Regions from separate parts of the Homo sapiens genome. Here regions 2, 3 and 4 are each linked to region 1. Evidence: promoter capture Hi-C in 16 types of primary human blood cells and fetal thymus (Javierre and others, 2016). All regions are on one chromosome and are shown on one strand. The core of a region is centred on a gene start or on the middle of the fragment in contact, and the rest is flanking DNA. Distances in the headings are between cores, read along the strand shown. Region 1 holds the start of COPS6 (COP9 signalosome subunit 6). Region 2 holds the start of PILRA (paired immunoglobin like type 2 receptor alpha). Region 3 overlaps PPP1R35-AS1 (PPP1R35 antisense RNA 1). Region 4 overlaps ZCWPW1 (zinc finger CW-type and PWWP domain containing 1).

The links. The method cuts DNA at HindIII sites, captures the fragments that hold promoters and counts their contacts. A CHiCAGO score of 5 or more calls a contact.
Region 2: a fragment that was not itself captured here is called in contact with the fragment with the promoter of COPS6 in region 1 in 1 of 17 cell types (naive B cells); the score reaches 6.7 in naive B cells.
Region 3: a fragment that was not itself captured here is called in contact with the fragment with the promoter of COPS6 in region 1 in 4 of 17 cell types (naive B cells, neutrophils, naive CD8 T cells and 1 more); the score reaches 8.3 in naive B cells.
Region 4: a fragment that was not itself captured here is called in contact with the fragment with the promoter of COPS6 in region 1 in 5 of 17 cell types (naive B cells, total B cells, activated CD4 T cells and 2 more); the score reaches 10.0 in naive B cells.

The regions. Positions count from the first base shown.
Region 1 is chr7:100,087,066-100,090,286 of GRCh38, reverse strand. COPS6 (COP9 signalosome subunit 6) reads right to left here and starts at 1,318. Exons shown (of 10, transcript NM_006833.5): 1 at 1,221-1,318; 2 at 872-997; 3 at 541-672. The coding sequence starts at 1,296. RefSeq lists enhancers at 1-920, 427-1,118, 2,505-3,198 and a silencer at 1,269-1,458. The HindIII fragment of the contact is 8,452 bases long and covers 1-3,159 here.
Region 2 is chr7:100,370,285-100,373,701 of GRCh38, reverse strand. It overlaps PILRA (paired immunoglobin like type 2 receptor alpha), which reads right to left and starts at 215. Exons shown (of 7, transcript NM_013439.3): 1 at 1-215. The coding sequence starts at 45. RefSeq lists an enhancer at 2,547-3,298. The HindIII fragment of the contact is 1,363 bases long and covers 1,053-2,415 here.
Region 3 is chr7:100,439,307-100,442,679 of GRCh38, reverse strand. It overlaps PPP1R35-AS1 (PPP1R35 antisense RNA 1), which reads right to left. Exons shown (of 3, transcript NR_187540.1): 3 at 2,803-2,946. Among named protein-coding and RNA genes, the nearest start is that of PPP1R35-AS1, 4.3 kb to the right of the region's middle. The HindIII fragment of the contact is 6,057 bases long and covers 1-3,373 here.
Region 4 is chr7:100,406,849-100,410,358 of GRCh38, reverse strand. It overlaps ZCWPW1 (zinc finger CW-type and PWWP domain containing 1), which reads left to right. Exons shown (of 18, transcript NM_001386010.1): 9 at 815-931; 10 at 1,700-1,820; 11 at 3,056-3,131. Among named protein-coding and RNA genes, the nearest start is that of ZCWPW1, 20 kb to the left of the region's middle. The HindIII fragment of the contact is 6,048 bases long and covers 1-3,510 here.

The DNA.
Region 1 (3,221 bases), core at 69-2,568:
AACCTCCGCCTCCCAGGTTCAAGCAATTCTCCTGCCTCAGCATCCCGCGTAGCTGGGACTACAGGCACGCACCACCATGCCAGACTAATTTTTGTATTTTTAGTAGAGGTGGGGTTTCACTATGTTTGCCAGGCTGGTCTTGAACTCCTGACCTCATGATCCACCCACCTCGGCCTCCCAAAGTGCTGGGATTAGAGGCATGAGTCACTGAGCCCGGCCTGACATAGTAATTCTTTAAACCATCCTTCCTCAATGTGAAGCTCCTGGTGTATTTTCACCAGCTTCTCTCCTCCCTCCTCAAATCCTGGCTCAGTTTAGAATAACTACTCCCTTCTATCCTGTCTCCTCTCATCCTTTGCTTTCTTTTGAGAAAGAACTCTGAACGTTTTCTTTTTCTGAGATCTCTCCAGCTACTCTTCACTTTTTCTCCCCTGTTCTTGGTCTCCTCTCCTGTTTCTTTCCAACCCTCTCCATCTTCCCCACCCTGTACATTTTTTTTTTAACTCCCACTCCTCTTCCCCACATCTATTCCACTCTCACACTGCTCCTCCTTGGTGTAATAATATTCCTTGTCAATGATAATCTTCTCTTCCACGGTGTGGGACAGCAGCTCAAAGGAGTTCATCACCTCGATATTTCGGCCCTCCTGCTTGCCAATCAGAGCCCCAATCACTGGGAAAGAGAATGACATGGAAAAGGTGAGGGTAAAGAAACTTCTATGACCTGAGGGTCTGAGATCAGTGGGAACCATGTATTGGGGAAACGATGATTTGGGGGAGGGGGAATTGGCTCCAGTAGAGGAAGGGGAAAAGACCACTGCCTGGGGGAGGTGAGCAAGGAGAAGAGACTGGAGTCTATGCCCAACACTCACCCTGCACAGGCCGCCCCTCCTGGGAGCGCATGCGGATCCAGTGGTCTGAGATGTTGAGAATGACAAGGGGATGGAGAGCGACGGAAACACTCCCAGTCACTCCGCAGGCCATCACGCTGGGGACTACTAAGGGTGGAGGGAAAGGAGAGAGGGTGAGAGTCCGGGCCCCACGTTCTTCCCTGGAGATGGCAGTGGGGGACGGCGGAGCCCGGGCCACACTTTCCTCCCGTAACTTATCCCAGGGAAAGATGTTGCTGCTCCGCCCTCCTCCCTTCTCCCGGGAGCACAGGGAGGCCTCAACGAACCCCTGAAGGAGGTCTCCGGAAGCCACCCCCGCACGGCCCGTTACCTGCTGCATCCACCTCCATCCCGCTGCTTCCTCCGGTCCCGTTCGTAGCTGCAGCCGCCGCCGCCGCCGCCGCCATTTTCCCCGCGCCCGCCAGCCTCGGCCCCGCCCCCTTCCTTCCCGGCTTCCGTAAGGCGAGCGGCGCATGTTCGGTGTCCCCGCGGCGTGCGGCGGGCCTGGCGTCCGGGGAGCAGGCAGTTCCCGGGTCGCGGCGGGCGGCACTCGGTGCGGGGACGCCCGACGCCCTCTGGGCCTCGGTGCCTAGCGGGTTTTCCCAGACCCTGTCCCCGCCTGTCGCCTGCGGGTGACCTTTGACAAATTAACGACTTGATCGTCCTCGTCTGTGAAATTGGGATAAGAACGCCTAGTTCTTAAGGCTGTTGCAGAAGGAATGACATGTCGTGTTATTTCCCTCACAATAAAATCCAAACAACTAACCACAACCTGCAAGGCCCTGCCTGATCTGGCCCCGGCCTGGCCTCTTCTAGCCCTTGATCTTCAGGCTTCAGCTGCACTGGCCCTCATGTCTGGTGGTGGTGGTGGTTTGTTTTGTTTTGTTTGAGACAGGGTCTCGCTCTGTCGCCCAGGCTGGAGTGCAGTGGCCTGATGTCAGCTCACTGCACCCTCAAACTCCTGGGCTCAAGTGATCCTCCCAGTTCAGCCTCCCGAGTAGCTGGGACTACAGGCGCACCCCACCGCACCCAGCTAATTTTATTATTTGTTTTTATTTTGATAGAGACGGGGGTCTCACTAGGTTGTCCAGGCTGGTCTCCAACTCCCGGGCAGAAGAGATCCTCCATCCTCAGCCTCCCAAAGCACTGGGATTACAGGCATGAGCCACCGCACCCAGCTCTCCGTGTGTTTTTCACATGCTTTAGTTTCCCATTCAAAAGCCTGTGGTTCCTTCTCTTGTTCATCATGGTATCCCCTGTGACCAACACGGTGCCTGACACATTGGAGCCTAGATACTTTTTGAGTGAATGAAGGAATAATTAGGGGTGGAATCTGGTGTTGAGTTAGTTGCTCCATCTTGTGAAAGTTGCAGATACCAGGACAAAATCACATTGTCAGGTCCAAACAAATTGGAGCCATGAGAACACCAAGGAGAAGGTCTCATGCTTGCATGTCTGAGATAGGAATTATCTCAAGGACTTTCGAAAATAACCCCACAAGGCCAGGCATGGTGGCTCACACCTGTAATACCAGCATTTTGGGAGACCGAGGCCAGACAATCACTTGAGGTCAGCAGTTTGAGACGAGCCTAGCCAACATGGTGAAACCCCATCTCTACTAAAAATACAAAAATTAGCCAGGCGTGGTGGCAGGCGCCTGTAATCCCAGCTACTCAGGAGCCTGAGGCAGGAGAATTGCTTGAACCCGGGAGGTGGAAGCTGCAGTGAGCTGCGATCGCGCCACTGCACTCCAGCCCGGGCAAGACAAAGTGAGACTCCATCTCAAAAAAAAAAAAAAAAGAAAGAAAGAAAGAAAGAAAGAAGATAACTCCACAAGGCCAGGCATGGTGACTCACGCCTGTAATCCTAGCACTTTGGGAGGCCAAGGTTGGAGGATCACTTGAACCCAGGAGTTTGAGACCAGCCTTGGCAACATGGTGACACCTTGTTTCAACAAAACATGGAAACAAAATTCGCTGGGTATGGTAGAGGCATGCCGAGGAAATTTATGCTTGGGAAGTGAGTCAAAACTCCCTTCCTTTTTGTTCCCAGATAGCTGTAATTCCACAACCCTGTGTCATAGCCTCATACATAAGCCAGGCTCCTACAATGGCAAAAGGCATATACCTCCCCAGATGGTCTTCCTCACAAATTGCTTGCCAGGAAATTCCTCATTAGCCTCTGAATCTTTCAGCATAAACATTCCCCCTATAAACCAGCCCTAATCCGAGTTCTGTGAAATCTCATACTGACAATGTTGATTACAAGCTTATCTTCCCAATTATAGAACAAGGAAGAGACCAGGAATCATCCCTCCACCTATCCTGAGACA
Region 2 (3,417 bases), core at 485-2,984, 280 kb before region 1:
CGGCAGCAGCAAGGGCAGTAGGGGCAGCAGCAGGGGCCGACCCATGGCCTTGTTCTTCTCCAGGGGACGGGGAGACCAGCAGAGCCGTCCAGGCAGGAGAGGGGCCCTGTGGAGGGGCCGCCTGGGGGTTGAGGTGAGTGAGGAGAGCCGGGCTCAGGCTCCGAAGAGGGCTGTGGGGGCCAGGAGCCTTCCCCAAACCAGTGCACCTCCAGGGTGACCAGCACTTCCTTTATCCATCTGGCTTATTTTCCCCTATTGCAAAAGGGCCTCCCTTGTGGTCAGTGCCAAGTCAGCCCTGCCCAAAGGCCGCGGTCCCCGTCCTCCTGCCGAGGGGCTGGGCCTGACCTTGGGGGGCTGGGCCTGACCTTGGCTGGCTGGGCCCCTCCCACCTGGATCCCTGCAGACCCCACCTCACTCAGCCTCACTTCTCATCCTTCTCTCTGCCCAGGGCCAGCGCAGGCTCTTTCAGGGAGAGGAAAGGCAGGCCTGAATCTCTGTCCTTCTGCGCCCCAGATTCAGTCCTCAGAGAGGAGGAGAAGGAAGCCGGTGGAGGTCACAGGTGCTCAGCCCCCAGCCCAAGCAGAAGAGCCCCCAGCTTGTCCTCTGTCCCTCTCCCTCCCTGGCAGGGGCTCCCATGCAGTCCCCAGGCACCACCACGACCCAGCTGGCCTCTTCCTGCCCCAGGCCCTCTCTCGGTGCAGGCACCACGACCTTGCTCAAGGGGTGAGGGGGCTAATGGTCCCCTACACAGAGACTGGTCCTTCTGGAAGCCACCCCTTGACCCCCAAGACATGAGACTGGGTCTGCAGGCTCCCCTCTGACGTCCCGCCCTACACAGGAGGGGACAGGGCTCTGAGAAGCCCTGCCCCAGGCCACGTGACTTGCAGTAGTGGGTACAGGACTGGAGCCCCCTCAACCCAGATGTCTGGGCCTGGCTGAAGGGTGGAATCTCTGGGCCTCAACTTCTGAGTGCAGGACAGGAGGCTGTCCCTTCATACAGCCCCTCAGGTCATTCCCTCCACACACCTGAGCCCTTGGCTGATCCAGAAGCTTCCTTGGACACAGAAGAAAGTGAAGGCTCAGAGCAACACCCACCCCACACACAGTCCTGGGCCCATCTCTAACGGGGATCTGCCGGCCTTTGCCCGGGGGTGGTCACTGGAGCAGGGAGCTTTGGTGGTGCACAGGGCTCCCTCCGTAGGAGGCTCTGCCCACCCTCTCCAGGGTGAGGTGGCATCAGTTGAGGGGCCGTGGGGGAAGACAGGATTTCATCAGAGGAAGTGACATCAGCCTTCTTGAGACAGAAGCAGGCAGGGACGGGCCTCCCTTCTCTTAGTCTCTTCCCTGGTCCTAGTAGGCTCCTCTGTGCTTCCCAGGGCCAGCCAGGCCGGCCCGCCCTCCCTCCCTTTACAGGCCTGAGGAAACAGGTTCCCCATGCTCAGGAAACCCCTCCGTCTGAGCCAGGCCCTAAACACCTCATTCTCTGCTTCACAACATTCTGAGGTGACACATTATCTCCATTCAACCCACAGGGAAACTGAGGGACGGGGGCTTTGGGCTGAACTGGTCACAGCTGGAAAGATGGGCTGCAGAGAGGACAAGGGACCCCCTGGCTGTCTGGGCAGGGCCTCGAGAGGGTGGCCCGCCCCACCTGAGGACCTGGCTGAAAGGTCACCTGCTTACCAGGCTGTCCAATGTGGGGGCCACATAGAACTTATAGCCAACAGCCTCTGGGTAGCTCTGGAGGGCACATGCTGCCCAATGCTGCCACGTGCAGTCTCCTTAGATGCAACATGCATGTTTATGTCACTTTCAGGCCCTGGATCCAGCTGAACCCCCATGGGAGATTCCTTCTGTGTCAGGATTTCTGCTCTGGGATGGTGTGAGGTCTCCTGGATTTGTTCATCCTCCCTCCCCCAACAGCAGTGACAGAACCTGGGACTGAGCCTGGGGCTGTGGCTCTCTCACAGACAGGGCTTCTGAGAGGAGGAGGAGGGCCTGGAGGAGGGCATGATTCCAATGTGGGCAGAGCCTAAATGCAGCCCCTTAGTGCAGGTGCTCATGGGAGAGGCGTGGGAAGTCGTGTGTGGGGAGCAGGGGCAGGGAGGGGGTAAGTACCCTGCACCGCATTATGAGAACCACTGCTTGGATGTCCCCACATTCCCCCAACAAGTATCCTACTGTCCTCACTGGCCACATCCGTCCCTGCCCCCAGCCCCTCACCTCTCCTTGGCACCCACCGTTCCTGCTTTCCTCTGATCCCAATCGACATCCCATAGGCTTTGTGGAGTTCACAAGCCAACTGTAATATTCTCACAGTAATTCAAAGGACCTAGAATAGCCAAAAGGCCTTTACAAATGAAGAATGAAGGTGGAAGATTTATAATACCTGACTTCAAGACTTGCTGTAAAGCTTCTGTAATCAGGCTGTACTGTCCTCAAGGTACTAGAGTGTCCACAGACTGGAGTGTAGGGACGCGATCACCATCACTCCTGGGCTGAAGCAATTTGCTGACCTCAGCCTCCCAAGTAGTGAAGACCACAGGCACACACCACCACACACGGCTAATTTTTTTTTTTTTTTGAGAGATGGGGTCTCACTATGTTGTCTAGGCTGGTCTCAAGTTCCTGGGCTTAAGCAATCCTCCTGCCTCGGCCTCCCTCAGTGCTGGGATGACAGGTGTGAGCCACCTCACCAAGCCCCACTGGATTGCTGATATTCTGGCATCTTGGACCTCCAAGAGCAGAGAGAGGGACTGCCCCTGCCAGAGCCAGCCAGTTGTTAGAGCTAGCAAATGACCCCTCTGAGAGTGTCCCTTTTTTTTTCTGAAACAGTCTCACTCTGCTGCCAGGCTGGAGTGCAGTGGCACGGTCTCGGCTCACTGCAACCTCCACCCCTGGGTTCAAGCGATTCTCCTGCCTCAGCCTCCCAAGTTGCTGGGATTACAAGTGCGTGCCACCATGCCCAACTAATTTTTGTATTTTTAATAGAGACGGGGTTTCACCACGTTGGCCAAGATGGTCTCCATCTCCTGACCTTGTGATCTGCCCACCTCGGCCTCCCAAAGTGCTGGGATTACAGGCTTGAGCCACGGCTCCTGGCTGAGTGTGCCTTTCATATGCAAACCAGCTAATCCAGGGCCCCAACACTGAACCAGCTCTTCTAGCTGCCTCTCACCCTTCAGAAGGCAGTATTTCTCTGCCTTCATCATCCTGGGCCAGACACCAAATAACAAATGACAGCCTCTAATCCCCAGAGCCTGCTAACGTTATTCTAACTAGCCAATCCTAAACCTGCATACCCTTCCTTGCCTTTTCCAGGGAAAGCATAACAAAGGGTCTCACCCCTGTGTTCCCTTGGCTTCCTCTACTCCCTGAGGGACCCTGGTGCTTTCCCAAGTGGCCCTGCATGGCTGT
Region 3 (3,373 bases), core at 116-2,615, 350 kb before region 1:
AGCCTCCCAAGTAACTGGGATTACAGGCCTGGGCTACCACATACGGGTAATTTTTATATTTTTAGTAGAGACGGGGTTTCAGCATGTTGGCCAGGCTGGTCTTGAACTCCTGACCTCAAGTGATCCATCTGCTTGGGCCTCCCAAAGTGCTGGGATTATAGGCGTGAGCCACAACACCCAGCTTGGATTATGGACAAATTCTTTTGAATGAGACTCTGTCCCCTGCCTCCAACTTTTCTGCATCCCAGCAGCTGGCATCATCCCATGTCCCAGAGACTTCACACATACCTAATGGGGCTCATCTCAACCCTCCTGTTCCTCAGCCTGATGCTGGGGAGGCCAGGCTCAGGGTCAGTGTGTTGGCCTGCAGCCCGATGTGTGCCCTCCTCCCTGGATCTCTTCCTTCTGGGTTGGGACGAAGGCGTGAAGGTGGTTTGGAGTCATGAGTTCAGGCTGAGACACCTCAGACCTACCTGACCTGCTGGGGGATTCACCCTGCCAGCCTCCGAGATGCAGTAGGATGAGAACACGCACTCTGGGGATAGGAGCCTGGATGTGTGTGTGTCTGGAGGTTGGCCATTCCCATCTTCCAGCGTGTCTCGTGTGACAGGGACCAGTGTGGAAGTGTCTCTGGGTTGGCCCTTAGGCATAGGCCAGTTTGAGAATAGGAGACAGGAGGTGAGAGGTCGCCATAGGTGGGGTTTGCAGAGGGTGGTATTAGAGCTTTGCTGTCTCTCTGATCTTTCTTGGCCCTATTTGGGGGTGACTTCCAGGATGACGCCCTTGCTCCTCCCCCACCCCCAACCCTGGCAGGTCTTCCCATGTGTCCTCTGTAGCAGTCTCAGCCACACCGTGCAGTGGACCACTGCATTGGAGGCATCCTACCTCTTCTTAAGGACATGGTCCCTTCAAGGACCCTGGATGCTGACCTGTCTCCTGTCCCACCTAGCCCACCTATAGCACCTGGCTCAGCAGAAGCTCATGGATGACCTTGAATGACCCCTTCCAGCACTGAGACTTGCTTTCTTCAAACTAGCATCCAGGTCTAGGATTACCCCACTCAGCAGCCTCAGATAACTAAAGGAGCATCTCTAACTGGTGAGGTCTAACCCAATCAAAAGTCTTTTTTTTTTTTTTTTTGAGACGGAGTCTCGCTCTGTTGCCCAGGCTGGAGTGCAGTGGTGCGATCTCGGCTCACTGCAAGCTCCGACTCCCAGGTTCACGCCATACTCCTGCCTCAGCCTACTGAGTAGCTGGGACTAGAGGCGCATGCCACCACACCCGGCTAATTTTTTGTATTTTTAGTAGAGACAGGGTTTCACCGTGTTAGCCAGGATGGTGTTAATCTCCTGACCTCGTGATCCGCCCGCCTCGGCCTCCCAAAGTGCTGGGATTACAGGCGTGAGCCACAGCACCCAGCCCAAAAGCCTTATAATAAATAATATTTAAGAGATGGGTGTTGCTCTGTCGCCAAGGCTGGAGTGCAGTGGCGTGATCATAGCTCACTGCAGCCTCGAAGTCCTGGGCTCAAGGGATCCTCCCACCTCAACCTCCCCGGTACCTGGGACTACAGGAATACACCACCACGCCTGGCTAATTTTTAATTTTTTTATAGAGACTGGGTCTCACTATGTTGCCCAGGCTGGTCTTGAACTCCTGGCCTCACAGGGATCCTCCTGCCTCTGCCTCCCAAAGTGCTGGAATTACAGGCATGAGTCACGGTGTCCCAGCCATTTTTTTTTTTTTTTTTTTTTTTTGAGACAGAGTCTCACGCTGTTGCCCAGGCTGGAGTGCAGTGGTGCCATCTTGGCTCACTGCAACCTCCCCCTCTCAGGTTCAAGTGATTCTCATGCCTCAGCCTCCCGAGTAGCTGAAATTACAGGCATGTGCTGCCATGCCCAGGTAATTTTTTGTAGTTTTAGTAGAGAAAGGGTTTCACTGTGTTGCCCAGGTTGGTCTCGAACTCCTGGCCTCAAGTGATCTGCCTGCCTTGGCCTCCCAAAATGCTGGAATTATAGGCATGAACCACCATGCCCTGTCCTCCTCCCCATTTTTTTTTTTTTTTTTTTTGAGACCGAGTCTCGCTCTGTCACCCAGGCTGGAGGGCAGCAGCACAATCTCAGCTTACTGCAACCTCTGCCTCCCCGGTTCAAGCAATTCTTCTGCCTCAGCCTCCTGAGTAGCTGGGACTACAGATGAGTGCTACCACGCCCAGCTAATTTTTTGTCCCCTTTTCTTTTGAAGAGGAAAAGCAATTCCTGGCCTCCCAGCCTGGGCCAGCCAAAATAGCTTAGGAAGAATGTGGGCAGGCCCAAGACCTCTCACCTCCCTCACCTCCACCTTCCGATCTTCACACTCGTACTGTTTTTTTTTTTTTAATTATTATTATTATTATTATTATTTTGAGACAGAGTTTTGCTCTTGTTGCCCAGGCTGGAATGTAATGGCACGATCTCTGGCTCACTGCAACCTCCGCCTCCCAGCTTCAGGCAATTCTGCCTCAGCCTCCTGAGTAGCTGGGATTACAAGCATGCACCACCACACCCGGCTAATTTTGTATTTTTAGTAGAAATGGGGTTTCTCCATGTTGGTCAGGCTGATCTCAAACTCCCAACCTCAGGTGATCTGCCTGCCTCGGCCTCCCAAAGTGCTGGGATTACAGGCGTGAGCCACCGCGCCAGGCCCTGTTTTCTTAAAATCATTGGTGAACATTCCACTTCTTGGAGACCCGCAATGTAAACTGGGCAAACAGAATGGCTTGTTTTCGTCTGTGCTGGGGCCTGAAATGAGTCAGTGACTAGATTTTAAGGCTGAGGAATTGCGTTTACTGGGTTCATGGACACGAACTCCTGTAGGGCCTAGATATTTATCAGCATGGCCAAGGCCTGGGGGACAGTTTCGAGTCTCAGCTCCAACACTTCCTGCATGCCAAAACTGCGTCAGCCTCTTTTTTTAAATAAACAAAAAACGTTTAGTCACAGAAATGTTCAAGAATATGCAAAAGTAGAGAAAATATAGTAATAAAATCCTGCTTCAGCAGTCATCAACATTTGGCTAATCTTGTTTTATCCATGTACCCTCAAATACTGTTCCGAACCCCAACTTTTTTTTTTCTTGTGACAGGGTCTCACTCTGTCATCCAGGCTGGAGTGCAGTGGCGAGATCCTGGCTCACTGCAACCGCCGCCTCCTGGGTTCAAGTGATTCTCATGCCTCAGCCTCCTGAGTAGCTGGGACTATGGGACTACAGGCACGTGCTACCATGCCTGGCTAATTTTTTGTACTTTTTAGTAGAGACGAGGTTTTGCCATGTTGCCCAGGCTGGTCTTGAACTCCTGAGCTCAGGCAACTTGCCTGCCTCGGCTTCCTAAAGT
Region 4 (3,510 bases), core at 62-2,561, 320 kb before region 1:
GGGGGTGGTTTAGGTGGGGCAGTGTCATTAGTGGGTCTCCAGGCTTCAGAAAGGAGATAGAAGTTCAGATTTGAGGTTGAGGATATGTGGACTTTTGTTGCTCGAGTCAATGGACTTTCCAAGACCACAATGGAAGAGTTTTGGTGGGAGAGAGGAGAGGCTGAGGGACATGGGTCAGCTTAGGAGAGGTGGGGGTCTGGAAGGTAATGGATAAAAGGAAGGCTTGGCCTTTGAGCAGGGCCCAGAGTTAATAGTTGATGGAGAAGTGATAGGCTTAGACCTGTGTCTTTTGGAGAAGAGTGAACTCAGACACTGTTGGTCCTAAAGTTTGCAACTTGGTGATTTGGTGACAGGTAAATCAGTTGAGATTTGGATAAGAACTCTGGATGTTGTGCACAAAAGAGATGCAGGTTAGCCCTTCAAAAGAACTTTTCAGTAGTGTCATGCCAGCAGAGAACAAGGCACTATCTGGAAAGATGCCAGGCAACCTTTCAATTTAAGAACTGTCAATACAAGAAACATTCCTTTCAGCCTTGGGGCAGGGAGACATGGTAGCCTAGTACAGGAAAAAGATCAAGGCATGAGACTTGAGTTCTAAGTTCAGCTCTATCGCCAAGTTAGCTAATCCTCAGCAAGCCAGTTACCTCTTTGAGCCTTGGTTTCCCTCTTATAAGTCAGGGATCGGGCTGGTTGATCTCTAATGTCTCTCTGGCTATGTCATTCTGGGAGTTGGGAGGGTTATCCTGATTTTAGTTGGATTAAAGAAGGAAGAGCATATTTTTAAGTCTCTTATTTCATTTTTTTCCTCTCACAGGTCAATGTCTGGTCTGGGTCCAGTGTTCCTTCCCAAACTGTGGGAAATGGAGGCGGCTGTGTGGGAACATTGACCCCTCAGTTCTCCCAGATAATTGGTCCTGTGATCAGAACACAGGTAGAAAAGACTGGAAATGTTTTCATTCATGTTTTATTGTTCCTCCCTTTCTTTCTCTGCACTTATCCTTTAGATTAAATACTACGTAAATATAGTTAGCACTCAGTGTCCTTGTAGTGCTTGGGAGAGAGGAAGGATCTGCCTCTCATATGGAGATGAATCTGGGCAGAAAAGGCTGGAGGAAGATGCCCTGTAAAGTGATCTTGTTGGGGAGGGGCCTGGAATCTAAATACATGAGCATTGGTCTGCCCCTGTCAATCCTGATTAAAATATTGGTATTGGGTTGGTGGATAGGGAGGGATATAGGATATATCGGGGAAAACAGACGAGAGAGATCTGGTGCGCTTAGAATTCTAGGCTGTTTGGAACTAGTTGGAAGAGATGATGATGATCTTGTCCAGCCCAATTATTTTACAGATGAGAAAACAGAGTCTCAGAGAAATTATTCTTATGGTGCTCCATAGACAGGAGCACAGTCAGACACGCGGGCATGCAAGCAGGAGTGTGGAATCTCTTCCTGGAGTATGAGGAGGCACCATTCCTACTGCCTCCAGCTGCATTTCAGCTGGTTCCAGCTGCATTTCAGCTGGTTCCAGCTGCATTTCCTCCATGGGTCTTTATTCTTCCTCTGTGCTGATCTCCCAGGTGCCCCTTTGGTCCCACCTGCTGCATATACCAATTTCCTTCTTGTTCTCTCCCCAGCTCTCATCCAGCTCTTTCTCTTAAAGAGTCTCTTCCTGTCCCTTCATTCCTTCTCTCTTTCAGCAGATGTGCAGTATAATCGCTGTGATATTCCTGAGGAGACCTGGACAGGGCTTGAGAGTGATGTGGCCTATGCCTCCTACATCCCAGGATCCATCATCTGGGCCAAGCAATACGGTTACCCCTGGTAGGGCATTATGACACAGTCAGAGCATCCTTCACAAACTTGGGAGAGGTAGATTCAAGCAGGGGTGGAAGCAAATGGAAAACATCTGTAATTGAAATGGTTCTGGCCTTAGAAAGAGCATGGGGTGAGAGAAAAGATAAAGTACCAAGCCTGGAGGCTTTGAAAGAGTGTATTTTCTGGAGGTTTCAGCATGGAGGTGATAGCTCCCTGGAAAAAAGGGTCTGATAGTGCTACCCCAACTGGTAGAAAGAAGAGGGTGGATCTGAGGCATTTAAAAATATTGAGATTGGCCAGGCGCAGTGGCTCACACCTGTAATCCCAGCACTTTGGGAGGCCAAGGCGGGCAGATCACCTGAGACCACAAGTTTGAGACCAGCCTGGCCAACATGGTGAAATCCCATCCCTACTAAAAATAGAAAAATTAGCCAGACGTGGTGGCGCGTGCCTGTAGTCCCAGCTACTCAGGACGCTGAGGCAGAAGAATCACTTGAATCCGGGAGGCAGAGGTTGCAGTGAACCAAGATTGCACCACTGCACTCCAGTCTGGGCGACAGAGTGAGTCCCCATCTCAAAAATAAATAAAAATATTGAGATTGAGAGAGACAAAGTAAAGGGAACAAGGAAAAGTGGGATAGTTTCTTCTTTGGAGATGTCTCTAGTCGAAGATTTTGTTCTTAGGATTGTGGATGGCTCAGAAGGGTAAGATACCTTCACTAGGTATATTCTGAGCTCCTGTGTGCATCGATGGAAGTCACTTTCTCACGAGTCATTCAGTAGTGACCACTAGAGGGGGATGATGGAAGGGGAATCTATTTTTTGGATCCTTTTTTTGCAAAGCATACTGCTGGCTGAGCGCAGTGACTCACGCTTGTAATCCCAGCACTTTGGGAGGTTGAGGTAGGAGGATTGCTTGAACCCAGGAGTTTGAGATCAGTCCTGGCTATATAGTGAGACCCCATCTCTGCAAAAAATAAAATAAACAGCTGGGTGTGGTGGCATGTGCCTGTAGTCCCAGCTCCTCAGGAGGCTGAGGTGGGAGGATCACTTGCGCCTGACAGATCAAAGCTGCAGTGAGCCATGGTTGTAACACTGCACTCCAGCCTGGGTGACAGAGTGAGACCTTGTCTCAGAAAAAAAATCATACTGCTCTTCTCTGTGCATGTACATTGATGAGGTTGTGTTCTGTTCATCTAACCCCTTCTCTTCTGTCCCCTACACCCAACTATCTTCTCCAGGTGGCCAGGCATGATAGAATCTGATCCTGACTTAGGGGAATATTTTCTTTTTACTTCCCATCTTGATTCCCTGCCGGTGAGTTTCCTGGTTCAGGGTAAGAAGGAGCTCAGGCCAAAGTAATGAACAAATCCATCCTCACAGACGTACAGATAAGAGACATGGACATAGCCAGCAGACACAAGTGAAAACAGACACTTAACTAGGATGACAAACACAGAGATAAGTGCTCACACATATAATAGAAACAAACTTGTATCTAATTAAATATTTATCCACTGTCAGGGCATTAGTGGTTTTGATAAATACGCTTTGGCTAGGATTCCTGAGGTTAGAATGGAAGAACAATTGCAACGAGGGTAGGGTAGATGAGTCAGGCTTTGAAAGGAGTATGTGAGGCCCAGCACCTCCTTCTGGGTGAATTCCCATTCTCCCGATCTGTTCTGGCTAGAGGAGA